Linked DNA regions of Homo sapiens: all the other regions are linked to region 1. The links are contacts of gene promoters, found by promoter capture Hi-C in blood cells and fetal thymus (Javierre and others, 2016). All regions are on one chromosome and are shown on one strand. Each heading gives the region's core, a stretch centred on a gene start or on the middle of the fragment in contact. The rest is flanking DNA. Distances are from core to core; before and after follow the strand shown. Region 1 holds the start of HAVCR1 (hepatitis A virus cellular receptor 1). Region 2 overlaps GEMIN5 (gem nuclear organelle associated protein 5). Region 3 overlaps MRPL22 (mitochondrial ribosomal protein L22). Region 4 has its middle 33 kb from the start of MRPL22.

The links. Contacts are between HindIII fragments. The CHiCAGO score rates a contact against its expected background, and 5 or more counts as called.
Region 2: a fragment that was not itself captured here is called in contact with the fragment with the promoter of HAVCR1 in region 1 in 1 of 17 cell types (M0 macrophages); the score reaches 5.8 in M0 macrophages.
Region 3: a fragment that was not itself captured here is called in contact with the fragment with the promoter of HAVCR1 in region 1 in 1 of 17 cell types (M2 macrophages); the score reaches 6.7 in M2 macrophages.
Region 4: a fragment that was not itself captured here is called in contact with the fragment with the promoter of HAVCR1 in region 1 in 1 of 17 cell types (M0 macrophages); the score reaches 5.8 in M0 macrophages.

Annotation. Positions count from the first base shown.
Region 1 is chr5:157,057,260-157,060,740 of GRCh38, forward strand. It overlaps HAVCR1 (hepatitis A virus cellular receptor 1), which reads right to left and starts at 1,857. Exons shown (of 9, transcript NM_001173393.3): 1 at 1,662-1,857; 2 at 639-696. The coding sequence starts at 684. The HindIII fragment of the contact is 9,361 bases long and covers 1-1,972 here.
Region 2 is chr5:154,905,341-154,908,821 of GRCh38, forward strand. GEMIN5 (gem nuclear organelle associated protein 5) reads right to left here. Exons shown (of 28, transcript NM_015465.5): 16 at 2,251-2,478; 17 at 23-136. Among named protein-coding and RNA genes, the nearest start is that of GEMIN5, 31 kb to the right of the region's middle. RefSeq lists an enhancer at 2,997-3,481. The HindIII fragment of the contact is 1,131 bases long and covers 981-2,111 here.
Region 3 is chr5:154,943,734-154,947,214 of GRCh38, forward strand. The region is part of intron 2 of MRPL22 (mitochondrial ribosomal protein L22); the gene reads left to right. Among named protein-coding and RNA genes, the nearest start is that of MRPL22, 4.4 kb to the left of the region's middle. The HindIII fragment of the contact is 1,617 bases long and covers 694-2,310 here.
Region 4 is chr5:154,972,633-154,976,113 of GRCh38, forward strand. No RefSeq gene overlaps it. Among named protein-coding and RNA genes, the nearest start is that of MRPL22, 33 kb to the left of the region's middle. The HindIII fragment of the contact is 510 bases long and covers 1,710-2,219 here.

The DNA.
Region 1 (3,481 bases), core at 607-3,106:
GAGCCGAGATCACGCCACTGAACTCTAGCCTGGGCGACAGAGTGAGACTCTGTCTCAAAAAAAAAAAGATTGCCCTACTGCACTCCAGAGTGAGACCTCATGAAGAGAGAGAGAGAGAGAGAGAGAGGAAAGAAAGAAAGAAAGAAAGAAAGAAAGAAAGAAAGAAAGAAAGAAAGAAAGAAAGAAAGAAAGAAAGAAAGAAAGAGAATTGAATGTGGCTGAAAAAAATCGGAAGGCACAAAAAAATACAATAAGGATTAACTCTCCCTCCACCTCCCACCCTCTGCCCCCATCCCACATTACCCACTGTCACTATTTCCTATATACATGTGTCTATGCATATACATCTAACCACACCCTTTTTGTTTAAACACAAAGGGCAGCCTGTGACACACTGTGCTGCATCTTGCCTTGTTCATTTAGCCATGAATGTTGTAATTCACAGCAGTTAAGCAATTTCTTTGGCCTAAAACTTTATTCTGGTCCTGCTCACTAGTTAACTCATAGCCATACAACGGTACCCAAAGAACATCTACATTAATCCACCACCACCATCCCCTCCCCTTCCCCTACCCCATTCTCTGGCTTCTAACCCCCCTCTACTCCCTTCTTCCCGCCCAGGGCACCTACTCACTTACCTGCCAGATGTAGGATGAGGCTTAAGATGACCACTTGAGGATGCATTATGGGATCAGCCTGAAGGAAAATGAGCAGACAGGCTGGTTGGTACCCTCCACCAGATGGTATCTGATCAAGTCTTAAATCTCAGATTGCAACTTATCTTTTCACCCAGTTGGTTGATTCATATGAGCCTGCTCTGCTGGAAATGAGAGAAGACCACATATAACGGCTTCAGAGCTCTGTTAGTTCCCTGCAGCTGAGAGCTCTGTGCCTTCCAAAGGACAGGGAAAGCTGTCCACAGAAACAGCCCCTGACTTCCCAGCTTCTTCCCCACACATAACCGCCAAACTGACTCCTGGTCCTGATACAGGGTATCAGGGGAACAAACAAAAAGGAAACAGGGCCGGGCGCGGTGGCTCAAACCTGTAATCCTAGCACTTTGGGAGGCCAAGGCGGGCAGATCACGAAGTCAGGAGATCGAGACCATCCTGGCTAAAAGGGTGAAACCCCGTCTCTACTAAAAATACAAAAAATTAGCCGGGCGTGGTCACTGGCGCCTGTAGTCCCAGCTACTCGGGAGGCTGAGGCAGGAGAATGGCGTGAACCCGCGGGAGGCGGAGCTTGCGGTGAGCCGAGATCGCGCCACTGCACTCCAGCCTGGGCGACAGAGCAAGACTCCGTCTCAAAAAACAAAACAAAAAAAAAGAAAAGAAAAGGAAACTGGAAGCAGAGAACCAGCGTGGCTCAATGGCAGCACGAGAGCAAATGCCAGCCTTCCAGTGGCAGAGATGCACTTGCTTTTCAGAGTAAACTGGGCCTCTGGTGGACGTGGAGCTTTTCCTACTCAGTGGCCACAACGACTTATCCCTAGCCTTAACAGTCATATTGCCAAGTTTGCCATTAGCAAGAGAAATTGAGAGTGAATGTGAATCACTGTGCCTAACCTTTCATGCTCCTGTACAACATGCTTCAGACTACACCTCCTTACCAAGGGACTTCAAGAGAATGCTTCAGGAAACAGAAGTCTGGAGCAGACTTACGTTCAGATCCAGGCTCTGTCACTCACAATGCTGGGTAACCCTGAGAGTTCCTGAGTTCTCTTCAAACCTCTATTTCCTCAGTTGTAAAATAGCACTAAAAATGCTTCCTCTATCTCCCACCAAGGATTGATATAATAAGCAAAAAGGGCCACGGAAGAACTTGGAAAACTAAACCTACATCATATGCAGTAATAGCACTAGCTGAGGTTTTTGGAGAATACTATATAGCAGGCTCTGTGTCAAGCACCCACATGCGTTAAATCGGGCTGTTGACTTCTGCTGTTAATCATTAAACCATACAAACATGAGTAAGCTTGCCTAGTACTTCATTAACTCCTCTTCTGGTCTAAGAATTCAGTAACTTCCAAGGAGGCAGTGGTGGTCTGTATCTTGCAGCTCATGACAGGGTTCATGGGGAAGTGGATGATCTCAGCATAGTGTTTTGTATGGCAGCGTTTAAAAATTCATTTCTTGACCGGGCATGGTGGCTCGTGCCTGTAACCCCAGCACTTTGGGAGGCCGAGTAGGCCAGTCACCTGAGGTCGGGAGTTCAAGACCAGCCTGGCTAACACGGTGAAACCCCGACTCTACTAAAAATACAAAAATTAGCTGGGGGTGGTGGCGGGCGCCTGTAATCCCAGCTACTTAGGAGGCTGAGGTAGAAGAATTGCTTGAACCTGGAAGGTGGAGGTTGCAGTGAGCCGAGATCAAGCCATTGCACTCTAGCCTGGACAACAAGAACAAAACTCCATCTCAAAAATAAAAATAAAAATTCATTTCTTGCCAGGCACAGTGGCTCACGCCTGTAATCCCAACACTTTGGGAGGCCAAGGCAAGTGGATCACCTGAGGTAAGGAGTTTGAGACCAACCTGGGCAACATAGCAAGACTCCCTCTCTGCAAAAAAAACGAACAAAAAATATAGTCAGGCCTTGTGTACCTGACCGTAGTCCCAGCTACTCAGGAGGCTGAGGCAGGAGGGTTGCTTGAGCCCAGCAGTTGGAGGCTATGATTGTGCCACTGCACACCAGCCGGGGTGACAGAGCAAGACCCTGTTTCTTAAGGAAAAAAAGATTGAAAAAAAAAAGCTAATTCAATTCAACCAGTTATTACTAACATATTGAGCTGATGGGACATGACTCAATATACTAGGGACGTCAAAAATCCAGACTTGTGCAATCGGGCAGGGACATGGGTAAGTAAGCAACTAATGAAATCAGGATAAGTGAGGTAAAGGTAAATATATAATCAGACTACATCATTCCCCCACTTATAACCCTCTCATAACTCTCTCAGAAAAATAATAATAATAATAATAATAATAATTCCTAAATCTTTACTCAAATTACTGAAGCCCTGGTGGTCTGGCCCTGACCTACCCCATAGATTTCTTCTACCACTCTCTCCCCTGCTGACTCAGCCCCAGCTACTAGAGCTTTCTTTCCAACTTGCCTCAACCCTAAGGCCTTTTCCGTGGCTGTGTTCTCCATCTAGCTCCCCAGCCCCACCATTTTCACTTTTTTCCTTTTCATTTTTATCCCGGCTTAAATATGACCTCCCTGGACATTTTTCACAGGTCCTTCAATCTAAAGTAGCCAACCAGTCCCTCTCACTATTATTATCTTGTTTTCCTTAATCCATTTTATCTGTGTGTGCAATATATGTGGTGTCTGTCTCTATTCCCTCCTATAGAGTGCTGCCCGGTAGAATTTTAGTAATGGAGTTATTCTGGTAACGGAGTTATTCTGGAACTGATGAGCCACAGAGAGCCAAGACAGGGATGTGGAGCCAGTGCTCTGAGATGTTACATAACTGTACAAT
Region 2 (3,481 bases), core at 296-2,795, 2.2 Mb before region 1:
ATTTTAATTACTAGATACCAACCTGGCTTCTCTTTTGGTGGCTCCTTTTTCAGTAAAATGACTTTGTTATTAATGGTGACTTTTGACTTTTCAAAGCCTGAGGAAACTGGAGTGCAGATAACTGGTTCTCTAGAAACTACATCATGGGGGAAAAAGGAAAAAAAAAGTTAAGGATAACAATAATACAGAATTTCAGTTCTTTGTAAAAATTAAGAGCCATTCCAAGCTTAGCAATATAATCAATTCATCTATTACCAAAACTTTTGAGATAAAATGCACTGGAAAAGAAGTAGGAGTAGTTTCCCCTTTCCCACCTCCCAAACTAGCTGTTTTCAGGAATCTGTAAGTCTATTACTTTGGTTTTTTTTTTTTTTTTGAGACGAAGTCTCACTCTGTCGCCCAGGCTGGAAATTCAGTGGCGCAATCTTGGCTTACTGCAACCTCTGCCTCCTAGGTCCAAGCAATTCTCCTGCCTGAGCCTCGCCAGTAGCTGGCACAAGCCACCATGCCTGGCTAATTTTTGTATTTTTAGTAGAGACAGGGTTTCGCCATGTTGGCCAGGGTGATCTCAAACTCCTGACCTCAGGTGATCCACCTGCCTCAGCCTCCCAAACTGCTGGGATTACAGGCGTGAGCCACCGCTCCTGGCTTACTTTTTTTTTTTTCTTTTGGTTAGAGATAAGATATAACTGTTGCCCAGGCTGGAGTGCAGTGGGTGCAATCACAGTCACTGAGGCCTTAACCTCCTGGGCTCAGGTGATCCTCCCCTCCTCAGCCTCCCAGAGTGGCTAGGACTATAGGCACAAGCCATTATCTTGGTAATTTTTATATTTTTTGCAAAGATGGGGGTTCCCTATGTTGCTTAGGCTAGTCTCAAGCTCCTGGGTTGAAGCAAGTCTCTTTCCTTGGCCTCCCATAGTGCTGGGATTACAGGCATGAACCACCATGCCCGCCTTACTTTGAACTTTGACTAAGGAAAAAGCTTCCAGCCCTCCACAACTTTATACCATAAGCCAAGGAGTTCCTATACTTTGCTCAGGTGACAAAGCACTTTTTACATTTCTAGGTCATAAAGTACTAATTGCATATTTAATTACACTAACAGGAGTAACTTTAATAATAGAGAATACTAGGTGTATGCAATATGGTGTCACAATCCTGAGCACAGGAACTTTTTAAAAACAACTTGTTGATCCATGTTTTGTATAGCCATTTTGTGAAAGAAAGACTTTTTAAAAAAAAGAAAAATAAAGAGATGGGGGGTCTTGCTGTGTTGCCCAGGCTGGCCTCAAGCGGTTCTCCTGCCTCAGCCTCCTGAGGATCTGGGACTAGAGGTATGTGTCTCTGTACCCGACTAGAAAAGCATTCTGATGAGCCAAAATAATAAATCCATTAGGCTTTTTGCTCTTTATTTACCCCAACTATGTGTCTAACAGCTATCCCTTGGGATGGAGAGCATCAGGAATGCCTTGTATCCTATATTCTAGCCATTTCAATACTGTCACATCAATGGATTCTGTTTTAGAATTAAGTATGAGTTACTGCTTCTACTTACACTGTTTGCTATTTAATCGTTTATTTTACCAGGGACCAGATATTTATCACTTGGTCTGACAAACCATTCTCAACAGGTCCCGAGTAAATGTACAAAATAAAAAGAGTGCTAAAATTTTTACCTAACAGTTTTTTTGTTAGTGATAGAACACTGTTTTGTGAGACATCTGAGAGCCATCACTACAGCTTAACTCACTAGAAAAACCTAATAACCATTCACACATTTTTTTTCTGTGAGAAGACAGAAAGCCGCGTACAAACTCCACGTAAGGGGGTGAGAGCTTGCAAGTTCCCACAGTGGTGGTAGCTTCTAGGTCAGACATTTGTAAGGGACAGTAGTTTCTTTCACCAAATGTGGCTACTGATGTCATACTGTTAAAACTTTTCCCATGTAAGTTCCTATGTACACAACTGACCCAGCTTCGCTTCGTCCCACGGTTTTACCTTGCCCAAGTTGAATAAGAAGTTTTCTCTGTAGAACTTTACTATTTCCACCACAAACATCCACTAGAACCCCTTTAAAACTTCAAAGATGTTTATTTTAGAGACTTGAATAAAGCTTAACAAAAAAAACTAATGCTGTTTCCAAGAGTTGGAAAAATGGGAACAGCGAAGTTTCAAACTGAGTAAGGACCTAGCTTAGTTTCCCAGACACGACCATGAAATCCTAGTGATACACAGGATTCTGCCACATACCCGCTGGAGCAAGGCCACAGGGTAATTCCGGCTCCCGTGCTTGCTCCTCCCCTTCTTGGTCTGACACACCATTCTCAACAGGTCCTGAGTTCTCCTTCATGCTTTCTTCTTCATTTCCATCAATCGATTCCAGCTTTACAGGAGTTCTCAAGGTGGGCTTTTTCTTCTTTTTGGGCTTTGCCTTAGGTTGAGAGAGCCGTTTTTTCTCCAATTCAATACTTTTTTTGCCTACAAGAATCACAATAAAGGACTGACTAAAGTATACATTCTTGGTTAAAAGCACTCTAGGTGGTAAACTCCAATATCTCATTCCTCTTTAATAGCATTTTTACCCATTCCCTTTCTTCTCAATGAACTTTTAGAATTATATTATCACAATATTAACCAAACCCTTTTGAAATTTCATTAAATCATAAACATGATGCCCAATAACACCCAAATATTTTAGTGTGTGTCTTATGAACAGGACATGCTCCGACGTCACCATAGTACAACCATGGAAATCAGGAAATTAACACGATTCACTACTGCCACCTACTCCATACTCTCTATTTAAGTTCTGCCAATTTTACCCAGATGTCCTTTTTTTTTTTTTTTTTTTTTTTTTTGGAGATGGTTTCGCTCTTCTTGCCCCGGCGGGAGTGCAATGGCGAGATCTCAGCTCACCGCAACTTCTGCCTCCCAGGTTCAAGCGATTCTCCTGCTTCAGCCTCCTGAGTAGCTGGGATTACAGGCACGCACAACCACGCCCAGCTAATTTTTGTATTTTCAGTAGAGACGGGGTTTCACCATGTTGGTCAGGCTGGTCTCAAACTCCTGACCTCAGGTGATCTGCCTGCCTCGGCCTCCCAAAGTGCTGGGATTACAGGCATGAGCCACCACGCCCGGCCTACCCAGATGTCTTTTATAGCAAAAGGAATCAATCCAGGATCACATGGTACATTTGGTTGCCATGCCTTTCTGGTTCCCTTCAGCCTGGAACAGTTAGTTGCATGGTTTTCCTTTGACTTTCATAATCTGAAACTTCTGAAGATTACAAGACAGTTATTTTGTCCAATTTCCCTCAATTTAGGTCTGCCAGATGTTTTTCATGACTAGATTTAGGGTATGCATCTTTAGCTGGAATGCACATTAGTGCTGCTGTGTTCATGCAGGGCAATCTATGAGGTAGCAGCTAATTTTTATTCGTCCCATTTGGTTTACTTTGATCACCTGATTAAGGGTGTGTCTT
Region 3 (3,481 bases), core at 252-2,751, 2.1 Mb before region 1:
TCATGATCATAGCTCACTGCAGCCTCGATTCAAGCCATCTTCCCAACTCAGCCTCCCAAGCAGCTGGGATCACAGGCGTGCACTACTACACCTGACTTTTTTTTGAGTTTTAGTAGAGACAAAGTCCTGTTATATTGCCCGGCTGGTCTGAAACTCCTGGGCTTAAGTAATCTCCCACCTCAGTCTCCCAAAGTGCTGGGATTACTCTGTAGGCTATATTTGTTAGCTGACTGACAGTTTTCAGTTTTTGAATTCCAAGTCTCCTATTTTACTGATGCATACATTTGAGAAGTTTTGTGACTTACTGAAGGTTACACAGTTAAATGTCAAAGTGAGGATCTAAACAAAATATTTTCTGGGACTACAGGTGCAGGCCGCCATACCTGGCTAAGTTTTGTATTTTTAGTAGAGATGGGGTTTCACCATGTTGGCCAAGCTGGTCTCAAACTCCTAGGCTCAAACGATCCGCCCGCTTTGGCCTCCCAAAGTGCTGGGATTACAGGCATGAGCCACCACGCCCAGCCAAAAAAATATTTTTTTTTAGGAGACAGAGTCTCACTATGTTGTACAGGCTGGTCTCGCACTCTTGGGCTCAAGTGATCTTCCCACCTCAGGCTCCCGAGTCTCTGGGATTACAGACGTGAGCCACCAAGCCTGTCTGTACCACCCTTTAGATGGGGGCATATCCTCTTAAGCTTTCCTCAGTTTCCAACCATGTGTAAAATTTTGGCATAGTTATTTACACTCAGTCCTCTTACCTTACCTGTCTCTGTATTCTTTCATTGATTCTACAAATATGTATTTAGTGCCTGCTCTGAGCTGGGAACTATTCTAGCACTGAGGATTTTGCAGGGAACAGGAACAGACAATAATCCCTTGCCATTGTGGGGTGTACAATATAGTAAGGGGGGCAAATAAGCAAAATAAGTAAAATATAGAGTATATTAGATAGTGACATCTGCTTATGAGAAAATAAAGCAGAGATTGAGAATAAGAAGTATGTGTGTTTGAGAGAGGAACTTGTAGTTTTAGATAGGGAAGGCCTCACTAAAAGATAATCTTTGAGTAAAGATTTGAAGGAAATGAGGAAGCATGCTGTGCTAACATCTGAACAAACAGCATTCTGTGCAGATAGAATAGTAAGTGCAACAGCTCCAAGGAACCATATCTGGTGTCAGGAACAATGACAAAAAGGAGAGGGATAGTGATAGGAGATGAGGTCAGAGAGGAAGGGGCAGTCATAAATCATATAGAGCCTTATTATTTTTTGTAAATACTTTGGCTTTTATTCTGAGCAAGATGGGAAACTGTTGTAAGGTTTTGAGCATGGAGTTATATGATCTGACTTATGTTTATGAGTGGTTCTTTCTGGCTGCTGTGTTGAGAATAGACTGGGGTGGGGATGGGGAGCAAGGATGGAAGCAGAGACCGTTGGCTATTTCAGGTATGAGATCATGGTGGCTTGGATTAGGGTGGCCGTGAAGGTAAGTGAATGGTTGGATTCTGGCAGTATGTTAACCACACCTGACAGATCTTGTTGATGCATTGGATGGGAGGTGTGAGAAAGAAGGGTGACACCAAAGTTTATGACCTGAGCAACTGGAAGGGTAGAGTTAACCACTTACTGAGCTAGGAAGACTTCCAGAGGAGCAGGTTTGGGGAGAATATTAGTAGGTCACTTTTGGGTTTGTTAAATCTGAGCTGTTGTAAGCATCCAAGTAGAGATACGAGTAGGCAATTGGGTATATGAGTTTATAGAGTTCAGGGAACGGATGTACATTTGGGAGTCATCAATGCATGGATAATGTTTAAAGCTGCAAAGCTGGTTGACTTCACCAAGGGAGTGAGTGTAGATAGAAAGAGTCCGAGGATTGATTCCTGCCTAAGGCAGCCAATATTACAGACCAGGGAGGGAGACAAGGAAACAACAAAGGAGACTGTGGGGGAGTGGCCAGAGAGGGGAGAAGAAAACCCCAAGTGTCCTGGAACCCAATTAAAGAAAGTGTCTCAAGGAAGAGTGAGTGACCAGAGATACTTAGGTCACTCTCAGATGAGGACTGATAATTAGAATTAGAATTTGTCTGTATTTTCTGTTTTAAGGTTGCTTCATTTTGTTTTAATTGAGTGTTATTCCAGCAATTGGCCAGGAGAGGGCACATAGGAACTTTTGATTTGATATTCTGTGCTTCTAAATTAAGAACCCCATTTGGAATAATACTTTAATTTAATTTGATTATAGTAGTTTGGTCTTTGCTTGATAATTCAGTTCATGAATTATTTGAGTCCTGAAAGTATTATAAGAATTCAGAAAGCTTTGACATTATTAATTCATAGTATGTTTAATTTATGAAGCAACATATTTAATTCACCAAATATGTATTGAAGATTTGAAGAGCGCAAGGTACTGTGCTAGGCGGGTACAGCAGGTATGGGCCTGACTCAAGAAATCTTTCAGATTGGTTTGTAGCAAAGGGGTTCATGTTTCTGTCATGCTGTTGGTGATGAGATTAGAGATAGAATTAAGGTTAGGAGAGGCCTTATAGATGATGTAGTCTAATTCCTCTTTTCACAGACAAAGAAACCAAGGTCCAAAGAGGTGACAAACATAGTGTACCCTACTCGCTAATTACAACTACATAGAACCATAAACGTTTATGATTATAAACTTGAGAAAAAACTTTGAAATTGTGTATTTAAAGCTTACAGTTCACAGGACTTATTTGGGGGCTGGGGACAGGAGAGATTAACTGTTCAAAGGGCCTAACTTTGTTTTATTTTTTATGCCCTTAAAAAAAGAAACACGGGTGTGGTGGCTCACACCTGTAATCCTAGCACTTTGGGAGGCTGAGATGGGTGGATCACCTGAGGTCAGGAGTTCAAGACCAGCCTGGCCAACATGGTGAAACCCCGTCTCTACTAAAAATACAAAAATTAGCCAGGTGTGGGGTGCGGTGGTGCGTCCCTGTAATCCCAGCTACTTGGGAGGCTGAGGCAGGAGAATCGTTTGAATCCAGGAGGCGGAGGTTGCAGTGAGCTGAGATCGCACCATTGCATTCCAGCCTGGGTGACAAGAGTGAAACTCTGTCTCAAAATAAAATAAACAAAACAGAGGCAAGGCCTTGCTATGTTGCCCAGGCTGGTCTTGAACTCCTGGCCTCAAACAGTCCTCCTATCGTGGCCTCCCAAAGTGCTGGTATTGCAGGCGTGAGCCACCATACTTGGCCAAAGGGCCTAATTTAAAAATAACACTAGCCATCAGTGTTTATCATGGGCTAGACATTGTAGGATGCACTAAATTATTAATCCATCAACAGTATTAAGTAAGTATTATTTTCCTCATTCTACAAGTAATAATATCTAAAATTTATTGAGCCCTTTTAAGTGTCAGGTTAAGTATTTTACTTGCATTTGAGCTTCTTAAGAAGGCTATGAGGTAATTATTATTAGTCTATTTACTGATGGGAAAACTGAGACCCAGAAA
Region 4 (3,481 bases), core at 715-3,214, 2.1 Mb before region 1:
TGTCTGGCTTTGATATTCTGTGACATGGTTTATGTCCAACAGAGGGCAGCATGGCCTAGCTGTGAGTGCCTGGCCAGCTTCTGAATGTCAAGGGCTGCTCTTTTCTTTTCTTTCTCAAATGCAAGAGAAGGGAATTGTTGAATAAGCTGATTTATTGTTTTTGCCACAGGTATCACCATACTTAAAGTGAAGCTCTGGTGTTTCCTGCTAAGTTCAGGTATAAGACAAGTATGCCGACTATCCATGATCATTTAATATTTTCTGAAAGTTTAGCCAAAACAGTAAAACAAATGAAATAAGAGAAAAATCTTTGGAAAGGAGGAGGCAAATTATTATTTACATATAATTGCCTATCTAGCAATCTAATAAAGTAAACAGAAAAAATATTTGAAGTAAGTAGAGTTCAATAAGGCAGTTGGTTACAAAATCAATATGCCATACACACACACACACACACACACACACACACACACACACACACACACACACACTTATTTAAGAGACAGGGGTCTCACTGTTTCTGTTGCCCAGGCTCAAGCTCTGGGGCTCAAACCCTTCACCTCAGCTTCCCAAGTAGCTAGGACTACAGGCACATGCCACTGTGCCCAGCTAAAGCTTATCTTTCAAAATCAACAACTCAAAAGAAAAGATAATTTTTAAAAAGTATTAAAAATAGAAACTAAAATATAAAATATCTAGGAACAAACTTACATAAGTAGGCAGGACCCATAGAAATAGAACTGTAAAACTTTATTGAGGGATTTGAAAGAAGACTGGAATAAATGATAGGGCATACCCATTCTTGAATGGCATAACTCAAGAATTCAACCACTTCAATTCTAATAAAAATGTCAAAAGCATTTTTTTAACTAGAGAATATAATTCTAAAGTCACCTGGGAAGCTTAATAAAGGGATGAAGAAATTTTGGAAGATTGAGGGGTGACTTACATTGCTAGGAAGAAAGGTTTATTATTAAAGCAGCATGATTCTTATGTAGCCTCCCAGACAGGCTCAAGTATATAGATTTGATATAGGATAAAGGTGGAATTGAAATATACTTACACTTCTGCTTAGGATATAGCTGCAAAGCTCATCACTCTCACCCTAACAATGAAAATGACAGGTAAATGACAAAATCATTACTTTTGTTGAGCCCGTAAGAAAGAATAGCTTCTGAGGCAACCAAGTAAGCTAATTCAAAAGAGAGACAAGTTCCTCCAAGGAGAGATGAGCTATGCAAACTGTCTTAACTGTCAGAGCACAAAAAGAGGGGCCACCACTTTTTAAGTGGATTAGAAATCAGGGAAATTGTTACATGCTGTCAAAATCCATGTGTGGATTAGTGGGCATTTGTTTTATTATTGTTCATGACACTGTGCTGCCTTCTGTGTATATGATGTATTTTAAAGTAGGGAAAAAGTAAATTTGGGGTCCAAATGTAATTTCCTGCATTTTTACACACAGGGGAATTTAGCCACAGAGAGGCTGGGTCCATTGGTGAAGATCAATTACTCCCATTTCCCAGTTCAATTTTCCATTCCCTATCCAATGCTCTGGCATCTAAAGCAGCCACATGATTTAGCATAAGTTAATAGACTCTGAACTTTTAAAATCAAGGCCAGTTTAAAAGAACTTAAGTTGCAGATATGAGATGTTTAATAAAAAATGAACACATACGGGTGAAATTTATCTGACTTGGGATGGAGAAAGCTTTTTATAAAGCAAAGGCAGAAGCCATAAAGAAAAAGATGAACATCTTAGGAGTATTAAGAGATATATCTGAATGATAAGATTACAGGCAACCTTTAATTTTACTTTGTGTGTTTTTCTATATTTTTGATGTTTTCTAAGTGAAATATATATTACCTAGGTAATTAGAAAAAATAGTAAAATTAAAAATAAATATCACTTTGAGTACTGTGAGCAGAAGCAGGAATGGAAGAATGCAGCTAACTCAGGAGAAATATGTGTTTTTAGCAGCTATCATTACCTTGAGTTTTCACATAAAACCTTAAGTTTTATAGGTGGAGAGAAAAACCAGGGGAAAGCACCTGATTAAGTGGCATTAAGTGGATGCTGGTGAAAATGTGACCACATTAGAATGTTGAAATATGATGAAATTGTGGCACAGGCCATCCTTGGATGTGCAGGTTGTGACCTGAGCAGAACTGTCTTCTGACCCATCCCTGCTCATCACAGATATTAAGAGTCTGAAGAAAGCTTGGCACAGGCAGGGTGTAGAGAACACAATAGGAAGTCTTGGTAAAGTCACAGAAGCAAGAGAAGCCCTTATACCCTCCACCCAGTGATTTCAAGTGGGAGAGAAAGAACGAGAAGTCTCTTGGAGTTTATGCTTAAGCCTCACCTGACTTTATTACTTTGCTATGTGGCTAGTTTCTTTTCTTTCCCTTCTTTTCTCTCTCTCTCTCTCTCGTCTCGCTCTGTTACTCAGGCTGGAGTGCAGTGGCGTGATCTCGGCTCACTGCAACCTCCGTCTCCCGGGTTCAAGTGATTCTCCTGCCTCAGCCTCCCAAGTAGCTGGGACTACAGGAGCGCACCACCACACCCATCTAATTTTTGGCCAGGCTGGTCTCAAACTCCTGACCTGAGGTGATCCACCCGCCTCAGCCTCCCAAAGTGCTGGGATTACAGGCATGAGCCACTGCTCTCGGCCTAGTTATTTCTTTATGTCGAAGTTCCCTGCTCTGATAAGATGGTGCAAAGTGAGAGTGTTAAATGTGGCTTTTCTCTTAATGACTTGTTTTCTCATAAGCCAACAGTGTTGATTGTCTGTGTTAATGGAGAGGATTTGCAAGCCCATGACTAAGTGAAAAGTACAGACCTCTACATCCCTAAAACCTTAGCTTGATTTTTACTCCCCTCTCTGCCCTCTTTTCTAGTATTTTTCTGCACTGTTAAAACCCTCCAGTGGCTTTCCACAGGTGTCAGGATAAAGTTTAAACTTCTTGTCTTACAAATACCTGCTTTTCATTATAGCATCAATGCTCATTACCACATACTTCAACCATACCAAATGACCTATAAATACCTATGGCCTCTTATTTCATGTCTCTGGGCATTTACAGTCTTGCTAATATTACCAAATGCCTACTATTGTGTCCGGAATTGGTTCCTTCCGGTGGGTTCTTGGTCTCGCTGACTTCAAGAATGAAGCCGTGGACCCTAGCAGTGAGTGTTACCGTTCTTAAAGATGGTGTGTCCGGAGTTTGTTCCTTCAGATGTTCAGATGTGTCCAGAGTTTCTTCCTTGGTCTTGCTGACTTCAGGAGTGAAGCAGCAGACCTTTGCAGTGAGTGTTACAGCTCTTAAAGGTGGCGCAACGGGAGTTGCTCGCTCCTCCTGGTGGGTTCGTGGTCTCGCTGACTTCAGGAGTGAAGCCACAAACATTAGCGGTGAGTGTTACAGCTCATAAAGGTGGTGTGGACCCAAAGAGAGAGCAGCAGCAAGATTTATTATGAAG